Regions from separate parts of the Homo sapiens genome. Here region 1 is linked to region 2. Evidence: promoter capture Hi-C in human tissues and cell types (Jung and others, 2019). All regions are on one chromosome and are shown on one strand. Each heading gives the region's core, a stretch centred on a gene start or on the middle of the fragment in contact. The rest is flanking DNA. Distances are from core to core; before and after follow the strand shown.

Region 1 (4,193 bases), core at 621-3,120, 300 kb before region 2:
CAGCAGGTCCAGGAAGCAGACAAGCCCGTGCAGAACAGGAAGTCAGGGGGCTCAGTGGGAAGTCATGGCACCAGTGGATTTGCTGACATAGGGAGTCTTCTGGCTCATTGGAAGACACGTATGTAGACAACAAAGTTATTTTTTGAGAGGTGATAATTTAAGAAAAAAGTTGTACTCTTCCTGGCTCATGTGAACAGTATCTATATGACACAAATAATAATGTGAACTCAAAGACTGTGTGGTATGCTTACACCAGGGGAATGGGGGAGGGAGAGCAAAGTGCACTTGAGTTAGATAACATCTGTCAAGACAGGGAGAAAAAAGATAATGTCTAAAATAAATAACAGCACATGCATACTCCTTAGGAATTGGAAGGTAAATGGCAGAAGAAATGGCTTAACAATTTGTACGTGGTTTCTTGTGACTTCTTATGACTGTATAAGACCAGGGAGCAATAGGGAGGGGAGGCACAAGGGATGCTATTTTGTTTCTATTACTATTTGATTTTGTAAAACTATACACATCAATTAAAATGATAAATATTATAGTTACAGTTTTCTTGTTTTTGTTTTTATTTTTAGAAAAAACAACAACAAAAGCAAGCACAAAAAACAGCAACAGCAAAAGGCTCTATTAGACATCATTATATCCATAGTACTATGTGCGGCACTGTGGGGGATTTTTTTAAATGTAAATAACCAGCAGGCTTATATATAATGCAGCAAGTGTGAAAAGCATCACAGGTCTAATAATAATGTATGTAGATGTCAGTAAAGTATACTTTTGCTTCTAGTGCTTCACTTGCCTCATGATATCCATCAAGCTTTTGAGAAGAAAGTACAGGATCTGTTAGGTTCTTTTTTTTTTTTTTTTTGAGATAGAGTCTTGCTCTGTCTCCCAGCCTGGAGTGCAATGGCGTGGTCTTGGCTCACTGTAACCTCCGCCTCCCGGGTTGAAGCAATTCTCCTGCCTTAGCCTCCCAAGTAGCTGGGACTACAGGCACGTGCCACCATACCTGGCTAATTTTTTGTGTTTTGTGTAGAGACGGGGTTTCACCATGTTGGTCAGGCTGGTCTTGATCTCCTGATCTCAGGTGATCTGCCCACCTCGGCCTCCGAAAGTACTGGGATTACAGGCGTGAGCCACCATGCCCAGCCAAGGATCTGTTAGGTTCTTAACCTAGCAGTTTACCAGATGCATTCCTTGATCAGCCTGCATGTGTCAAACCACTGAGTACCACATGTGTCCACAAAGACACCTCTGAGAGGGGCAGGCGCTGACAAGATCCTGGAGTCAGAGGCTGGGCTGGGCTGTTGCCTGATTGACTATGCGACCCTGGATGTGCCCATCCCCATGTGCTTTGAATTCATCATGGATCACATGAGGGAGTCCACAGAGTATGCCAGATCCTTTTTGGCATCTTTCCCCAAGTCTAAATTTCTTTAGTGTCATTCATTTTTCTGATTTTGTAATTGTTTTGAGTCTATTATTGCCTTATTTTTCTGATTTTAAAGCAATATAAGCTCATTGTCAAAATTTTGTAAAATCCAGAAAAGTATGATAAAGGGAATCAGCATGCTGAGCCCTACTATTCAGCAGCAACCACCAATAACATTTTGAGATACGTATTAACCTATGAGTGTTTATAAGTGTGAATTCTAGAGAGAATATGTAGTAGCCATGAAATCATGTTTTCAACAAATATTCCAGGATATGGGAAGGCACTCATGCTTTCATTTTGAGTATAATATACATTAGTTGTAGCGTGTGTTGTGGCTATATAGTATTCTGTCTTGTGAATGAGCTGTACCATATGCTGTGAATGAACCAAATCATTATTTTGGATGTTTCCATTTGTTTTCAGTGTTTTATTATTATTGTTGCTTTTTGAGACAGGGTCTTGCTCTGTTACTCAGGCTGGAATACAGTGGTGTGATCTGGCTCACTGCAGTCTCTGCCTTCCAGTCTCAAGCAATCCTCCCACCTCAGCCTCAAGAGTAGCTGGGACCACAGGCGTGCACCACCACACCCAGTTGAATTTTTTTTTTTTTTTTTTAAGTAGAGATGGAGCTCTACCATGTTGCCCAGACTGGTCTCAAACTCCTGAGCTCAAGCAATTCCCCCTCCTTGGCCTCCCAAAGTGCTGAGATTACAGTGTGTTATTATTATAAATAACATTGTAACAAACATCACTGAGCATCAATATATTTCTGTCTACTCATTCCCTAAGGATAAATTTCCAAATTAGAATTGTCAGGTCAAAGACTCTAACTATTCTTATCTTAGTCCTTTGATGCCCATTGCCAGATTCCTCCCAGGAAAGGTGGCATCATGTCACCACCCTAATACGATGAACGGGTGTGCCTGTTTTCTGCTCTACGTATGCCAAGTGTTTTCATTTTCAAAAATTTGCACAGCTGATGGATCGAAAATGGTAGCTCTTATTTTTATTGAGATTGAGGGTTTTTGTTGTTGTTGTTTAGTTTACTTTAGTTTTGTTTTTGAGATGGGGTCTCACTCTTGCCCAGGCTAGAGTGCAGTGGCATGATTATAGCTGACTGTAGCCTCAAACTCCTGGACTCAAGCCATCCTCCCACCTTAGCCTCTCAGGTAGCTGAGACTGCAGGCATGGCTAATTTTTTTATTTTTAGCTACCATGCCTGGCTAATTTTTTTCTGTACAGATGGGGTCTTGCTATATTGCCCAGGCTGCTCTTGAACCCCTGGCCTCAAGTGATCCTCTCTTCTTGGCCTCCCACACTGTGGGCATTACAGGCATGAGCCACTGTGCCTGGCTGAGATTGAGGTTTTAATCTTTTTGGCCACATATGTGTATTTTTAAGTAAATTTCCCATTCATGTCTTTTGACACTTTTTATATTGAGGTGTTATTCTCCTATTTCAAAAAAGCTCTTTTTACATCAAGTATAATAATGCTTACCTTATATAATATGTTTTAACTATCTTTCCCAGTTTGTTGCTATCCTGTTAAAAGGATTTTTTTTTGTTTTTAATGTAGAACCTTTCTTAATTTTTATATAATCATATCAACTAAGTTTTTCCTCTATAGTTTTTTTTTTTCCTTTTATTCTTGAAGGGATATTTTTCACCTTGAGATCAGGTAAACATTTACCTATATTTTCCTCTGGTTCTTCCCTGGTGTCACTCATATTGATTAATTGATCTGGAATTTACTGTAGGTATGGTCTATCTAACTTCATTTTTTGCACCTAGTTAGCCAATGTACGAATCCTTTTACTTATTTATTTTTAAATGTTAATGTATAAAAGTAAAAGTAAAATGTTAATGTATAAAAGTAAAGAGTCTAGTGTAAGTCATTTCCACGTACCTGTCACCCAGCTTAGTAATTATCGACTTATGGCCAATTGGGATTTATCTGTGTCCCCTTCCCCTCCTACACTGGATGTTTTTAAAGCAAATTTCAGGCATCATATAATTTTCACCCACAAATATTTCAGTATGAGCTCTAAGGACTCTCTTAAATAAAGACTCTTTTAAAGGCATAACTGCACTACCATTATCATACCTAACATAATATCCGGTCATTGTTCCAATTTCTCTGATTAATACTTTATTGACTTTAAAAAATTCTTTTACCACCAAATAAAACTGAAATTCTTGCAGTAAAAACAATTTAAAACTTAGGGTGATTAAAAACAGTTGGCAACCTGGTTGATGATGGGATGGGTCAAATCAGGGGGTACAAGAACGCAGAAGGCAAACAGTTGCGTAGGATCAGAGCCAGCACAGGCAAGGACCCAGCAGGGGGCAGTAGCAGGAGGTCCATGGAGCCCAGTGGTGTCTGATCCTGCAGGGAATTGGACGCAGAAAGCAGTGGCCCAGTGTGGGGCCAGAGTCAGGGCTCACTTCTCTGAAAGCACAGTTCCAGTCCTGGAGGAACTGTGGTAATAGGAAGGACATCAGACAGGGTCCTCCTTGTGATACCAAAGCTAGTGGTCTAGTTATTAGATGTGGACTGCAGTGCTGGGGCCTGTGCACAACTGGACAAAGCCTAACTCTGTTTATCAGAACCAGATTTCAACATCAGAGTTGAATGAGAAGCAAGACTGACCTAATGCTGACTGGGTAAGCTCTTGCTCTCTTTATGGACAGGATGATCTCAGAGTTGAAATGAGCCAAATATATCAAGTAGAGATAAGCACAGAGATTTCAG
Region 2 (4,011 bases), core at 1,448-3,947:
AGGCATCCTGAGATACCCTGTGGGCTCCTCCACAGAGGCCTGGGGCCCTCGTACATATACAGTGTTTGTGTGTGCACACCCACCCACACATAGGGCTGCTCTGCTGGGGCATCTGCCAGCCCGTTCCTCCCAGCCACACCCCTCCTCTGTGTCTCTCCTGGGGACATGTCCCTCAGCTCAGGGTCAGCGTCTAGAAACTGGTCTTGGACAGCTCATGCACTCATGGTCTCCAGGAGAACTTGAAAGTAGGTGGTTGGGCCCGGTGCAGTGGCTCACGCCTGTAATCCTTTCACTTTGGGAGGCTGAGGTAGGCAGATCACAAGGTCAGGAGATCGAGACCATCCTGGCTAACATGGTGAAACCCCGTCTCTACTAAAAATACAAAAAATTAGCCAGGCGTGGTGGCGGGCGCCTGTAGTCCCAGCTACTCGAGAGCCTGAGGCAGGAGAATCGCTTGAACCTGGGAGGCGGAGCTTGCAGTGAGCCAAAATCGCGCCACTGCACTCCAGCCTGAGCAATAGAACGAGACTCCATCTCAAAAAAAAGAAAAAAAAAAGGTAGATGGAGGTGACACGGGGTACACTGTGCCTTTAAGACTTGTCCTGGGTTGGATCCAGCAGAGAACAGTTGGGTAAACAGCATTGAGCACAGTGGGGAAAACAGACACTACATACTCAAATGAGGATGACGGAGCAGACGAGGGAACTCCAGCGCTGCAGCCTGCCTGAGCCCTGACACCCACACGTCCTGCCAGCAGCCCCAGGAGCTGAGGAAACTGAGGCTGGGAGAGGGTCTCAGACGGCCAGCACAGAGCAGGTTTACAAACCCCGAGGCTGATGTCCCAACTGTCACTGGTGCTGCGACCCTCCCGGCTTCCTCTTAGAAGGTGGGAATGGGGCCAGGCGCAGTGGCTCATGCCTGTAATCCTAGCACTTTAGGAGGCTGAGGCGGGCAGATCACCTGAGGTCAGGAGGTGATCTGGCCAACATGGTGAAATTCTGTCTCTACCAAAAATACAAAAATTAGCCGGGCGTGGTGGCGCACACCTGTAGTCCCAGCTACTCAGGAGGCTGAGGCAGGAGAACGGTGTGAACCCGGGAGGTGGAGCTTGCAGTGAGCCAAGATCGCACCACTACACTCTAGCATGGGCGACAGAGCAAGACTCCATCTCAAAAAAAAAAAAAAAAAAGGATGGGAATGATGAACCACACTGCAGGAGCTCCCACATGGCACAAAGGAAAGAATACTCTCAGGACGGGGTCTCCACCTGCCAAGCCCTCCTACTTCGGGGCCTCTCTACACGCCCTTGGCCTTCCAAGGTCTCAGGGCTCCCCTGCAGCTCCCAGGGCCCTTTCTGGGTGTGACGTATTTTCTCTGTGGTCCCACACCTCCTGCCCCTCCAGGAATTGAGCCCTCGTGGGCAGGCACTATCCCCCAGAATAGGGATTTGTCCCATACTGTGAGAGAGTTTTTTGTGTGAATGGTGCTGGATTTCCAGCTGCTGGTGAACACTCAGGTGTGCCAACAGTGCCCTGATTATGCGAGGACAACAGCAACCATCCCCGTCGTGGGCCACCGTGCCAGACCCTGTCCTGCAGATCCCCTCTGAGGCAGAGCTGGGGCAGTGACAGCCTGAGCCTCAGTTTCTCTGCTGTGAAGTGGGCCCACGACAGCTCCTCCTTCATGGGATGACCCCGTTTGGAGGATCAGGGCAAGCGCAATCCTGCTGCCCTGCCCATGCCCACTCACTCCTACCTCCTGTCCCGGTGGCAGCCTGACTGGACAGAGCCTGGGGTCTGAGCTGGCCTTCCTTCCACTGCCCTTCTGGAAATAGAGTGGCCATACTGCCGCAAGCTGACTATGCTGTGGTCAGGATGAACTCCCCTGGCCTCCCAGGGTGGCCGCCACATGCTCTCGACCCCCAGGCCCCCAGATGGGCAAAGTGCTGAGGAATGAACATATGGAGAAACAGAGACCAAACAACCACTTCAATCATACAACAGGTGGGGGCCCGCCTAGCATCTGGCCAGGGCTCTGGGCACTGTGCTGCCCCCAGCCCACCCCCTGCCACAGGTGGCACAGATGGGCCCATGAGTCAGCGCACGTTCATCCCCTTTGTGCCTCCCCCAGCCCCTCCAGCAGTCTGTGCCCTCATAACCCCCATTTCCCAGGCAGGAAAACCTAAGGTCAGGGAGTGGGAAGCCCTGTGTCAGCGTGGCCCGCAATCAGGGGAACCCCGGACTCTCTGACGCTGTTACTAGGGGCGCAGCAGGCGCTGTGCTGGAGCGATCTGCGGTTCCCAGGGCGAACCCCGCCTGGGAAAAACCCAGCGTGGGCGCCAGCGGCAACGCCCGCTCGCTTTCATGCAGTTTGCCTGGTGGCCAGGGAAAGGTCGTTCTTGGCCTCATTTTGTGGATTAAAAGTGTCCGCGACGGAGGTTCAGAGCAAGACGCAGCGCAGGGTCCTCTGGGGCCATCGGCGTCGCGCCCCCTCCCTTGTGGGGCCCCGCGGGACCGTCTCAGGCCCGAGGGGTTGGGGTCGCCCCAAACTGCGCGCTCTCAGCGTACAGCCTCCAGGCCCCGGGCCCGCCCCGGGTGGAGGCGGAGTCTGGGGCAGCAGCTCGCCGCCGGGCGGGCCGGGGGCGGGCCGGGGGCGGGCGCGCAGCTGGAGCCTGCGGCTGAGGCTCGGGCGCGCTCAGGCCCGGATCCTGGCGGCCTGGGCGGCCGCACCATGGACTCGGGAACCGAGGAGTACGAGCTCAACGGCGGCCTGCCTCCGGGCACACCCGGCTCCCCGGACGCCTCGGTAAGACCTTCCCCCCACCGCTGCATGATCTTGCCAGGCCCTGTCCTTTCGGGGCGCCGCGGCTCCCCGGGCACCTGTGTGCGCCGCGTCCGCACTGCAGAGTGTTGGGGGACGTCCCGCTCTAGGCCAAGTCCTTCCCGCCCCATCAGGGTCAGAACGATGCCCCCGGGAGCTCCAGCCACCCCCGGCAAGTGGGCGGGACGAGGGGGCGTGGGGGCGCAGGGCGGGCTGGCGTCCCCAGCCCCACTAAGCAGCGCCCGCGCTTGGCTGCACGGCGGAGGGGGCCTCGGCGCAGCTCCTCGGGCTAAGGACTGCCGGCGCCCGGCTTTCCCGACCTCCCCCCCACTCTCGCGCGGGCCTCTCTAACTTCAGCCTCGCCGTGCCGGCTCCTCCGCGCACTTTGCCCGGAGGCGGGCGGAGGGGAGTCACAGCCTCCGGGCTCCAGACCAGCTGCATGCAGACAGTTACGTCACCCCACGCTGACCACACAATCTGATGCGTGCCTTGATGGGGGAACTTGGGGCCCGCTGTGGTCCCTATTCCACTCACCTGCCTTGAGAAATAGAAACGTCACACAGCCTTCAGTGTATGCCGCCACCGGCCCTCCAGAACTTGCCCTGCCCGGCCTGGGAGGGCTGTGGGCAGGGGGCAGGCCCTGGTAGTGGTCCCGCTTCAGAATTCTTCATCCCAGGACTCAGCACTTACTGAGCACCTTGTGTTTGTTGCAAGGTCCTGGCATGGCCCTCTGGTGACTTGTTTACTTTGAACATTCTTTCCTTTTCTAACCCCCTCAGGGATGGGGGCAGGGAACAGCAGCCTGTTGGGTTTTTCCAGGCCTCTCCATGGCGTGGACCAGACTGGGGCAAAGACACTCTGCCCACTCGCTGGTGAACAGTCCTAGGCCGGTGCTGTGGGGACAGGACATGTTCGGGGAGGCGGGGCCCCATGAGCCACGGGATAGGATGGCCCTGGGGCTGCATGGACACTTGTTCCTAGGTTAGAGAGGAGCTGTCGCACTGCAGGACTTGACCGGTGTGCGGGACCCCAGCGACCTGGCCCTGCCCCAGTGTGTGAGCACTTTGGAGCAATAGGCAGGGGGCTCCTCCGGCTGTGTGTCCTTGGGAAGTTGCCACACCTCGCTGGGCCTTTTAGACATGGTCTTATAAAGAGAGAACAAAGGGTCTCTCCTGCCTTCAGGGAAGTGGG

What was found. Contacts are between HindIII fragments. The study calls those that stand out against the background at their distance.
Region 1: a contact is called between a fragment that was not itself captured here and the fragment with the promoter of NINJ1 in region 2, in 1 of the 25 tissues and cell types used here (heart right ventricle).

The regions. Positions count from the first base shown.
Region 1 is chr9:93,427,771-93,431,963 of GRCh38, reverse strand. LOC107987097 (a long non-coding RNA gene) reads left to right here. Exons shown (of 2, transcript XR_007061670.1): 2 at 1-553. Among named protein-coding and RNA genes, the nearest start is that of FAM120A, 22 kb to the left of the region's middle. The HindIII fragment of the contact is 9,352 bases long and covers 1-4,193 here.
Region 2 is chr9:93,132,937-93,136,947 of GRCh38, reverse strand. It overlaps NINJ1 (ninjurin 1), which reads left to right and starts at 2,697. Exons shown (of 4, transcript NM_004148.4): 1 at 2,697-2,805. The coding sequence starts at 2,731. LOC124902212 (a long non-coding RNA gene) reads right to left here and starts at 3,936. Exons shown (of 3, transcript XR_007061665.1): 1 at 3,355-3,936. RefSeq lists enhancers at 1,387-1,983, 3,443-3,492 and silencers at 1,953-2,002, 2,503-2,732, 2,903-3,152. The HindIII fragment of the contact is 17,238 bases long and covers 1-4,011 here.